Regions from separate parts of the Homo sapiens genome. Here regions 1 and 2 are each linked to region 3. The links are contacts of gene promoters, found by promoter capture Hi-C in blood cells and fetal thymus (Javierre and others, 2016). All regions are on one chromosome and are shown on one strand. Each heading gives the region's core, a stretch centred on a gene start or on the middle of the fragment in contact. The rest is flanking DNA. Distances are from core to core; before and after follow the strand shown.

Region 1 (4,074 bases), core at 841-3,340, 150 kb after region 3:
AGCCTCCCAAGTAGCTGGGATTACAGGTGCCTGCCATCACACCCAGCTAATTTTTGTATTTTTAGTAGAGATGGCGTTTCACTGTGTTGGCCAGGCAGGTCTCGAACTCCTGACCTTGTGATCCACCCGCCTCAGCCTCCCAAAGTGCTGGGATTACAAGCGTGAGCCACCGTGCCTGGCCCTGAATGTGAATTTTTAAGACATTTATTATGTTGAATAAAATTAAACAAAGGCTTACATAATTCTTTGATTTATTATTAATCATTTTGCCTTTGAACTTGATTTTATTTTAGAATTTACTTTAGGAATTGTATATCAAAGTTCTAAAGACACATTTAACAATAATAACTCATATTTTTAATAGTACTTTAAAGTTTACAAAGTGGTCCCATTTACTTTGGTTCACATGGGCTGAGCTCCAAAATCTCTCTCTCTCTTTCTGTGTGTGTGTGTGTGTGTGTGTGTGTGTGTGTGTGTGTGTGTGTGTGTGTGTGTATTTGTGTATTCCCTAGGTGTATGTAATCCTCAGTTAAGTTTGGGGATCACTGGAGTAGATGATTTCCGAGAGTAAGCCAACAGCCTGCTAAATTACAGTGGTGTTTTTGAGCCTGTTTCAAATAATTGAGTATTTTCAAGGAGAAGGCATTTCCTTCTCTATTCGAGGTTCCCCATCCATATCAGTTTCTACAGAGGTGACGCTCAGGCTGAGGGTGATTCTGAAACTCTTTTTAGAAGCTGTTGGAGAACATAAAAGGTAAAGGAAAGAGGTCCTTAGAGGCTGGGTGCTCACATTAACAGCTGCAGGAATGCTATAGACTGAAACTTGCTAAGGTCACAAGAGCCTTTCCTCTTAGTTCTTGATGCTTTGGCTTGGCTCCTTGTAAAATCTGAGCAGAACTGCCTTGGTTTCAATGGGGAGTGATAACATCCGTGAATCACCATGTGCTTTCTAGGCACACACTTGTTCTTCAGTTGTGACTGAAAAGAGCACAGGGGCAGACATGACCCTCAGGCAGGCATTGATATTTTGTGGGATCAGGTCCTGGGATTCAACAAAGCCAGTAATGAAGTGGATATGATATGAATTTGTTACTGACCTCACCCATCCAAAAGGCAGCTACCATCCAGGAAATCCTGTTTATATTTATGGGAGGATAGTAGACTGGCATGGCAAAGAGGATCCTGGAGGTAGTGAACCCTCTGGAGGATATAAACGTTGCTGCATTACTTTTCAGGAAAAAGAATGTGCGCTAAGGCAGAACTTGTAAATATTATGCAGCCTTTCTCCTCGTAAATATTCCCAGTGGACCACATAATGTGTCCATAGTTAGAATCACATAAAATAAGATTAACCATTCTTCCAGGAAGCTTGTTTTCATCACAGAACCATTGGAGAATCAGAAAGTCAACAGGAAATTTTAGGCAATGCCATACTATCATCACAGGCTGAGTTTCCGCATTCTTATAAAAGTCACTTTATTCTATTTGTCAAATACATTTTTATAAAGAAGAAGTATACCTTAATATTCACTCTTAATTTTAGGAAAATATGCGACAGACCTTTTTTATAGGCTGAGTTAATTGCAGAAGCTGAATGATGCCAGGATGAAATAATTCTCAACAAGGTTGATGGGTAAATCCAAAGACCTAAGACAAACAGTTTTCCAAGCTAAATGAACAAATGTTACAGCTTTCTGAAATAAACATTCAACAATTAGAGTTTCCCAGGATAAACTTACTCTATTTTAGTATTTCACACCAAGAGTCCTTGGAATATTTAAATCTTGAAATATTATGGGAAAATTTTTTGCCCTTTTAACATAGAATTTTAACTTTATGGTACAATAAACTTCATCTTTTCAGATAGAATGTAAATTTTAAAGTAATCATTTTATAAGTATTCACTAATTTTTTCCTTATTTTTTTCTTTTTTTTGAGATAGAGTGTCTCTCGCCGCCCAGGCTGGAGTGCAGTGGCACGATATCAGCTCACTGCAACCTCTGCCTCCTGGGTTCAAGCGATTCTTCTGCCTCAGCCTCCTGAGTAGCTGGGATTACAGGCACACGCCACCATGCCCAGCTAATTTTTGTACTTTTAGTAGAGACGGGGTTTCCCATGTTGGCCAGGCTGGTCTCGAACTCCTGACCTCAAGTGATCTGCCCGCCTCGGCCTCCCAAAGTGCTGGGATTACAGGCGTAAGCCATGGCGCCCGCCCTACTTTTTTCCTTATTTAACTGACAAGATAAAATATTTTCAATGACTGGGCACAGCAGCTCATGACTATAATCTCAGCACTTTGGGAGGCCAAGGCAGGCAGATCGCTTGAGCCCAAGAGTTCAAAACAAGCCTGGGCAACATGGCGAAACCCCATCTGTACAAAAAGTACAGAAATTAGCTGGCCGTGATGGTATGAGCTTGTAGTCCCAGCTCCTCGGGAGGCTGAAGCCAGAGAATCACTTGGGCCCAGGAGGTGGAGGTCACAGTGAGCCAAGGTCGTGCCACTACACTCCAGCCTGGGCGACAGAGAGAGGTCCTGTCCAGAAAAAAGAAAAATATTCTCAATTTATCTGTGTAAAACTTTCTTATTCCTTGAAGATTCTTTATTAAGTATTAACTGTGGCCATGGCTTCAGTTATATATTCTAGCCAAGATTAGGTCATAGATCTGGTCAGTGACAGAGAGTTTCAGGTTTAACAAGAATTGATTCGTCATTTATTTATAATGTGGTGAGCTCTTTGCCAGATGGAGTAAGTAAGGCTAAGAGAAGTGAAAGAAACATGAAAGAAACAGTTCCTGCTCTTGGGAAGCTTAAAACTGTGGCCCAGACATGATGTGGTATAGAAAACTATGTATATATATATATATATATACACACACACATAATATATTATATATAGTGTTTATATATAATATATAACGTTTGTACAGACTATATATATAGACTAGACTAGACAGTCTAAATATAGTCTATATATGTATATATAGTAGTCAATATAGACTACCATAGTCAAGGTGGATCTGTTCCTCAACACACACCTACCTCAGGCAGGCCAGACTATATATATATATATATATATATATACACACACACACACACATATATATATAGTGTCTATATAAACATAGAGTAGACTATATATAGTCTCTCTCTATATATAAACTTAGACTATATATAGCATACTATATATAGACTTTAGTATATATACTATATAAAGACTATAGTCTTTATACTTTATGTAGTATATATACTATACAAAGACTATGTAGTCTCTATACATAGACTGTATATGGACTACTCTATATAGACTACTGTATATAGACTATATATACTATATTACTATACTATATATACTGTACTATATATACTATATAGTATATATAGTAGTCTATATATATAATTCTATATAGAGACTGTATATACTATATATACTCTCTCTATATATTTTATATATATATATATATATGTATACACATACACACACATATACATATATATTAGCCTGCCTGATGTAGCTGTGTGTTGGGGAACAGATCCATCTTGAATGCAAGCCAGGTAACCACCCGGAGACAATTTGGAAAAACAATGAAGAGCTGAAAATCTCTTTTATTTTACTATCCAATTTGCCAAACTTTTGTTGAGCACCTCAACAAAAGCAGTGTCCAGTTCTGAACACTGGAGATACAGAGGAAGAGCAAAGAATATATGCTGTTTCCATAGGCTAAGGGCAAAGAGAATTAACTGGGTGACTTTTCCCAGATGTCTTCAATCCATGCATGGTTCAGCCCTTAGAGTGTGCATCTATCGAATGATGCATACTGCAGATGAAACACTGACTCACTCCTTTGAGTCCTGACTGTGACATATTTTGCCCGAACAGTTCCCAGACCCTCCCTGCTATTCTCTCTGCTTCCGCTCTTGCCTCGTTACATTCCATACTTCACACAGCAGTGCTTGGCCTTGGACACCAAGGTGGTGAGTAAATAAACCTTCTTTTTCTCTAAAGATTTCATTAGAAATTCCTAAGGGTTGATAGACCAACCATTCACATGTACCTGTCATTACCTTTAACTGCT
Region 2 (4,068 bases), core at 315-2,814, 130 kb after region 3:
GGAAGGCTAAAGGCCTAGACTAAGTGTGTGTAGGTGTTCAGGGGAAGTAGAGACTATTTATAACTGGACAGATCAGGAAACCTTCATCTGTGAGGGAGCCCTTTGCCTGGGCATTGAAGGATGGGTAGAATCTGAATATGCAGTGATTGTGTGGGGTTAGGGGACAGGAAAAGATGGAGATTAATAAACCAAATAAATGATAGGGTTATTTTGGTTTCGCCAAACACAGAAAAATTGTTTGACAGTAATTACTCCTGTCCCTCCCCAAAATTAATTCTCAAAGTTTGACTTGGCATTTTTACTTTTGCGTGAGCATTGGAAAATCTCTTGCACTATTTTAACTTATGAAAAAGCAGCTGACTTTGGTAGTGAAAGTATTATAGATGCTTATTACATATGCTAACTCTTCTAAATAAAGTCCAGGTTATGGAGAGCCTTGAGGATCAGTGAAAGTGATTTCCTTTATTCTGAAAGCAGGGAAAAATTGAACAGGGAATGTTGTGTGAAGAGTACTTCAGGAAAACCCATCTTGCCTCTCTGTAGAGAGGGAGCAGAGAAGTAAAGAAGGGAAGCCATTGCCATGGTGTACATGAGGGGCAGAGAAGGCCTAGACTGTGTAGTAAGTCAGAAGTGGTGAGATAAATGCAAGATAGTTATGATTATTCTCAGAAGTTAACCAGAGTGAGCCTGCATTTGAGTTGAAATAACTGTGAAGAATTTTAGACTCTTAAAATAGTAACAGGACTTCAAGAGACCAACTCCTGCATCCCAATTTTGAAATTATTGAGTGCAGTCAAATCCCTGGATTTACTGATAAGAAAACAGGCTCAGAGAGATAAAGTGACTTGCCCCACATCACACAGCTAATTAGTGGCAAAATGAGGCTAGAAGTTTTTTTCCAGTTGCCTGGTCAGGTGTCTATAACTTATAATTTGTTTGTTTGTTTGTTTGTTTGTTTGGTTGGTTGGTTGATTTCCCACCAAGAAAATCTCTTAGCTCAAATGGCACCTTGTTCTCAGGAGAATAGACTGCTTTGTTTATAATTTTGCCACTACCGTCTATCAGCTGTGTGGCCTCAGTGAATTAATCATCCTTCTAAGCTTCCTTTTCCATGTCTGAAAAATGGGGGTAATTTAATAGTATCAGAGGCTCCTTGAGAGGGTTAGAGGGCGTAACCCTTGCAGAGAGCTCAGCAGCAGACCTAGAATATAGTGAGCACCCAGTAAGACAGGACTCCTACATTCATTTTCACTAGCAATTATTACCCACCAATTATAATTAATAACCAATTAATAACCACTGGCAATTATTACCCACAATCCTATCCTACAGTCATTGTCACCAGCAATTATTACCCACCAATTATAATTAATAGCCAATTAATAACCACCAGCAATTATTACCCACAATCCTATCATAAATGGTTGCTCCAACTGTCGGAGGATATCATTGGCTAAAATTTTGAGAATCATTGGTAGATCTCTTGGAGTTCTGACGAACTCAGCTCCTAGCCACCTCTGAGCTCTGAGACACTCAGCTCTTTCTAGGCCTAGTTTTCTGATCTCAGGGCTGATGAAGGATTTCTAAGAGAAGAGTTGATCTTAAGCACTGATTGTTTCTCTATTTTTTATTTTATTTTATTTTATTTTATTTTATTGAGAGATAGGGTCTTGCTCTGTTAGAGGTTGGACTAGAATGGTGAAATCATAGCTCACTGCAGCCTCGAACTCCAGGGCTCATGGACTCAAGCCATCTCCCCACCTCAGCCCCCTGAGTAGCTAGGATTATGGGTGCATGCCAGTGCACCTGGCTATTTACAAAAAAAAAAACTTTTTTGTTTTTGTTTGTTTTGGTATAATACAGAGTCTCAGTTTGTTGCTCAGGCTGGTCTTGAACTCCTGGCTTCAAGTGATCCTTTCTCCTTGCCCTCTGAAAATGCTGGGATTGCAGGCATGCATTACCACACCCAGCCAGCACCGGTTGTTTCTAAGGGTTGTAAGAACAGGCCAGTTCCACAGTGAAGCTTCCTGGTGCATAATCACTCTGCAAGAGAATGCCATTAATGGTGGCTTCAGGGAACCCAGATCATTCATCCTCCAGATGCAGTGTTGCTGAGAATCTTGATGACTTATTCCTGGCATATGATGTCAGGCTGTGCTTTATTTTCCTCTCCCTGTCTTCTAACTTCACAGACAGGAAAATAGAGTCAGAGGAGACCAGGAAGTTGCTCAGAGCCGCAAGGCTAATACTGAGGGCTAGGGCATATTTCCCAGCTTTGGTGAGTTTTAGTAGAGAGTGTCCTGGATTTTAATTTAAAAAGAGAAGGAGATCGGGAATGACATCTGATAATGTTCTTTCTTTCTCTGCCTCTGTTTCTCTCTTTGTCTCTCAGTCTTTGTCTGCCGTTTACTCCAGGAATTTTAGAAGAAATATGAACTTTTAGGGAATTTAGCATTAAAGGGCCCCTACTGAAGACAAACTGCCTTGAATATGGGATGCTGCTCCATATTTTTAACTGGATGAATATAGACTTTTCCCCCACATTGGCCAAGTTAAACAGTTTTTGCTTGCTTCCTCACAGGTATGGATACCTGTGAGCTGGAAGGTTTATACGATTAATGATGCAGGTTAAAGAAAAGTTGATCTTTAGGTCTCTACCCAAGTGTGGCAGCAACCCCAAAAGCTGAAGTGAATTTCAGCTCGTGTCACTGTTCCCATTGGTCAGGTCCATTCCATACAGGTTGTCAAATATATTGACTATTTCCTTTCTTTCAAAGTGGTGGCTTTCTCCTTTCTTTTGAGTGAAGAATCCCTGACATTTGTGTGTAACTGATGACTGTATATCATCTTCTGCATCCAGAGAACACCCGCCTCCCCGTGGTAGCATCCTTCCTACATCTCCATTTCTTTTGGCTTGCAATCTTGTTGTCAACAAATAAGTCAACATAGATAAGAATGTTAATTTATTAAAAATAGTCTCAGCAGAGGCAGGGGTGGGGGAAGATGGGGACAGTATTGGCCAATGGCCTGTACAAAAGGGCCAGACATGACTATTTGAAAACATTGTAATTCTTGCTAACTGACCAAAAAAAGGATGCAATGCCAACACTGGGAAATCGTAGAAAGATATGGAGCCAGCTCTAGTCCTTCTAGTATGTGAGTTCTTCCTTGGTTATCAGATTCGAAGGGAGGCTCATTAACTATTCAGTTACTAAGTCTCGTCTCCTTGATTAACTGCCTCAGTAGGGAACCAACTGAGGTTGGGGCCTGAAAAGACTACTTTGCCTCCTAAATACCTGACTCATTCTGTATTAGCCTGTTCAATACCCACAAAGACACACTGTCTTTCAAAAAGGAAGATAAAACTTCCAATAGAAAATTAAGCAGTACATTGCTATGATTTCCCCATAGCAGATGCATCTGGTCTTAAACAACTACTATAACCTAAATTGCAAAGCATTTCCCCCAAACCATTGAGTTGCAGAATTTAAAAAATGTGTTTGATTGCCAAATTTGCAAATTGGATCAGTTTTCCAGTTTTCCACTGAGGAAGAGGAAAAGGTGGCAGTTGTCAGCTGGCAATTGAAATACAATTTTCCCTGGCATGTAAATCTTGCCTATCATCAGTGTGTTATCCTGGCCATGCTTACCTGGCGCTCCCTGCAACACTGCAGCCAAAGCCTGCCCTTCTGGATGGTTGCATTCTGGATTCTATTGACGATCAGAGTAATAATTATTGCAGCCTGCATTTCTGGAGTTCTTCATGCCTTTTAATCTCATTCGAGTCTCAGAAAACTCTGTGAGAGAATTAGGGGAGGTACAATTATCCCCGTTTTACAGATGGGAAAACTTGGACTCAGAGAAGACAAATTACTTACACAGGACACAGTTAGTTTCTAGTAATCCTGGATCCTAACCCATATCTTGTGTCTCTCAGTCTAGCATTCTTTTCACAACAACACCTGGGCATAGAAAAGCTACAAGGAGAGGAGTGTGCACAAAGTAGATTGTCTTGGTCCCTAGACCTTCTAGGGTGGAGGTTATTCCGTGTGACACCCTACTTTTTAA
Region 3 (3,771 bases), core at 1,108-3,607:
TGCTTCCTTTTGCACTGTGTCCTTTGCAAGGACCAGAGAGCTCCTCAAACTCACCAGGAAGTACTGAGGAATTTAGTGTTGCGTGCACTAACAGATTCTTAGCAGGAAATTAGAAGCGGTGAGTAAACTGCTTTTTGGTGAGTCATCAGTTTCAAAAACACACCTTATTTATGAAACAATCTGAATATTGGACGTACTATGACTTCCTTCTATTAAACACGGAATTAAAAGACTATTAAATGCATTCATCTGTTTGGATTCAGATTTTCTCCAAAATCAATGTGCTCATGGAATCATTGATGTCTACCGGTTGCCTCACCTACTAGTGTCTGCTAAAGTGTTTTTGGTCTAATGAGACAATGTAGGGTTTCCTTTGGTTCTGAGGGCCATACCTTGGCCCTAGGAAGTTGTTGGGCTGCAGTGACACAATGAGCCAAAGGTGGATAACAGAGCTTCCATCTCAGCTTCAAGCCCTCACCACCTTAAACTCCACACTAGTTGGTCATTTCAACTGTTTCCACCCAATTCCATGGCCACTTTCTTGCTCTAGTGATTAGTAGATTATTAATTCCATTTTATAAACACATTCTTACTAGGATGTCAGTGAATTACTTTAAACACTTGTAATTTAATATAGACAATAGGAAAGGGGTGGCACTGAACTGAGAAGATGGCATCTCTCATCTTAAAACTTTAGACATTGGACCTACTGAGTAAGAGTATGTATGTCTGGAAGTCTTTATCCTTTCGGAATTGAAATTTGGTCTACAGTTATAATTGGTGGACTGTGAAACAGGCAAAACCCTACAGAAAACAAGCAGAAGGAGAATGGAATTAACTCGACTAGATTATGAGATTAGCTTTTTTCCACCCAGGCTGATGGGGGACAAAGGAACAATGGTTGAAGCTTGAGTCTACCTGACAATTGGGGTTTGTCAGGTAAGCCCCATTCTCTTGATAACTTTTTCAGTGGGCTAGACCCAGACCCAATCATGTTAAGTATGATAGGGATCAGTGGCCCAGCTGGTGTGGAAGACAAGTGGGTCATACTGGGTTTAGGCCCACATAGCACTAAAGGTCTTCAACATGCAATTAGAAGCTCAAATGTTGACGGGAATATTGTTCACTCTAAAAAAGATGTTTCTATTAGAATTTACTTACTCTTTCATGAAAACATAGATGCTTCCTCTTTCCTGATTGTGAGAACAGTGTACCTGACTAGCTTCCCCTTTTCTTTAACTGTTAGGAAGTTCTGTCCTAGAGATAAGTTTCAAATTTATGAAACAATAATTTCAGGGATTATTATTTGCATCACTTTTCTTAATTGACTCTTTATAGTTTCCTTTTTTATAGTTTATATAGAGGTTTTATAATGATTTTAAAATTTTTATTCTCACACTATTTTATTTTATGCATTAACATTGTAAGCCAGCTCAAGTCATTTGTAAAACGTGGAGTGCTTAAAAGAAACAAAAGAAAATTAATAAATTAATTGAATTCAGAGACATCCTTTGCTTTCTTTTCAGTGGCATTTTTGAGAATTAACATATTATTATCCCCTTCATTATTCCATAACAGAATTACAAATTGCTAATTTAGACGTGGTTGTTAGTAGCTCATTACCTTGACCAAAAGTAATTTATGAGCCAATGTGGCTAAAGATACAGCACATAATAATCTTGACCTTTCATAGTTTTCAAACTGGATGACTCCTTGGAAAGAAAACAAATCTTTACTAAAGAAGTTAATCAGGTTTCACTCTAGGTTTTCTAAGCACAAAAAACACACCAAAAGCATTCACCCCAGCATCCACCCTGTTGCTGTCTTTTGCCACAGCTCCTTTGGTACTACCCCACCCAGAAGTCTGAGGTTGTTTTATCTGGGAAAGTAGCTAGTTGATTCTTTAGTCTTAAATAAAAAAGTTGGAAAAGGAAAAACAGTATCTACCCTTATTTCTGCCCCACAGGAATTACCCACCTCTCCTCATTGGAATTATGCATGAAGGGCTGCATTCCTTCAGCTTTATAGGGTATGACCCAGTGTGTTCAGAGGTTGGACAGGAAGATTTGATGGAGTAGCATTTTGTAGTAAACCGATCTAGGGCAAAAGTGTTCCACATTCCCCTAGAGCTTTTCTCTCCCATTTCCCTTCTGTGATTTCAGACACCCATTTATGTCTGCTGGGAGAATCATTAAGTCTTGAGCTCTGTGCTCCTTCCTCTTACCAGACCTGATAGTGACTTTAAGCGGGAGGGGGAGTTAGGAGAAAAGTATTTTGTTTCCTTCTTGAAGGGGGTGTGTCCCAGGCTTGTCTACCTGCACAGGCAGTAATGCGTGCCAGGAATTGCTGATGGATCAGTGAGCCTGTGTTCATGCCAGTGAGCTGCTGTGGCTCAGATACTGATACTTTCTTTCCAAACAGCATAAGAAGTGATTGAGCCACAAGTATACTGAAGGAAGGGCTCCCTCGAGTTCTGGTGTGAAGAGATAAATCACCAGGTAAGCCCAATAACTGTACTTTGATTACTAAGAACGTGTATTACGATGACCAGTACTACCTGTTAATCTGAGATTATTTTTTCTCTCCTTGAAAAAAAAATTCTGATTTCAATGTATCATTTCCTGAAGATGGTTAAATAAGGGAACAGAGTTGAAAAAGCAATGAGCAGAAACAACAGATTTCAACCCGCTTACTAACTATAATGAGGTGATTGGCTGAGGCTCAAGCTCCAGATTTTCTGACTGAAAGCACACTCTTCCCTCTGTGATAACACAGGAACCCCATTGTTCTGATGTGCCAGGGAGGTAGATTGCCTAGAATAAAAAGGGCTCCACCAAAGATACTTGTTAAAGTATCAGTCATATGGTTTTCACTAATTCATAATACGTTAACCCTTGCAATCTCTTAAAATAAAATTATGCTTGAGAGAATTAAGCTTATTTTTCCTTTAGGGTGAATTAGTTTAAGCTTTGCCTGGATCCATATATATCCAGGAAGTACTTCTCAATTTAACTCCTTCCCAGGACTCCAAAAAACCCTAGAATTGACTAACCATTTCTCCTGCTACTTCCCCAAATAAATATAAAATGTCACACTGTATTTTCTTAGTAGAGGCCTTGAAAATATATAATTTTTCTTTTCTCTTTTCTTTGTTTTCATGAAAAATCCATTTATGTAAACCTGATAGCCTATGTAATGTACCATGCCAGAGACTACATGAAGGAAAAATACCGAAGGAGATATAGAAAGAAGGTCAAGGTGGGAGAGGTGTGGAGAAGTGATGACCTTGGCTTTTTCATGCTGAGATCCATTAAGCTCAACTTGATAATAGCATTCATGGGCTGGAAATTACAAACAGAGGCAAGAATAACAAAAAATAAATAAAAGTACATTCTTTAATATGTTAGAATATTAACACAAGCCTTTTATTATGCTCTGTTGTCATTAAGAAAACACCACTCATTATCTAACCATAACCCAAATTGACAACAGTGTTCTAATAATGGTCCCATAATACTTTATTCAACCTTTGACAAGTAGTAAAACATTGAGCAAATTATTTAGTTGTCTTATCCTGGTTATTTCATTTGTAAAATGGTGCCAATAAGCGTTAAGATTGGAAATAGGAGTGTATGCCTGTGGAGTCTGACAAGCTCAACTTGCAAACTCACCTTTTGTGCACAACCCCAAGCTGATGTGAATTATTGTTGGATGCCTTGTATGTCTTTCTTCTCCAAAAGTAGAGTAAATTTCTTAAAAAACAGGGACAGT

What was found. Contacts are between HindIII fragments. The CHiCAGO score rates a contact against its expected background, and 5 or more counts as called.
Region 1: a contact is called between a fragment that was not itself captured here and the fragment with the promoter of ADGRF1 in region 3, in 1 of 17 cell types (endothelial precursors). The highest score is 6.5, in endothelial precursors.
Region 2: a fragment that was not itself captured here is called in contact with the fragment with the promoter of ADGRF1 in region 3 in 1 of 17 cell types (endothelial precursors); the score reaches 5.1 in endothelial precursors.

What each region holds. Positions count from the first base shown.
Region 1 is chr6:46,888,577-46,892,650 of GRCh38, reverse strand. The region is part of intron 3 of ADGRF5 (adhesion G protein-coupled receptor F5); the gene reads left to right. Among named protein-coding and RNA genes, the nearest start is that of ADGRF5-AS1, 13 kb to the left of the region's middle. The HindIII fragment of the contact is 1,439 bases long and covers 1,371-2,809 here.
Region 2 is chr6:46,907,597-46,911,664 of GRCh38, reverse strand. The region is part of intron 1 of ADGRF5 (adhesion G protein-coupled receptor F5); the gene reads left to right. ADGRF5-AS1 (ADGRF5 antisense RNA 1) reads right to left here. Exons shown (of 4, transcript NR_110658.1): 3 at 3,651-3,797; 4 at 1,636-2,921. Among named protein-coding and RNA genes, the nearest start is that of ADGRF5-AS1, 6.2 kb to the right of the region's middle. The HindIII fragment of the contact is 923 bases long and covers 1,103-2,025 here.
Region 3 is chr6:47,040,918-47,044,688 of GRCh38, reverse strand. ADGRF1 (adhesion G protein-coupled receptor F1) reads left to right here and starts at 2,357. Exons shown (of 15, transcript NM_153840.4): 1 at 2,357-2,498. RefSeq lists an enhancer at 1-444. The HindIII fragment of the contact is 2,028 bases long and covers 910-2,937 here.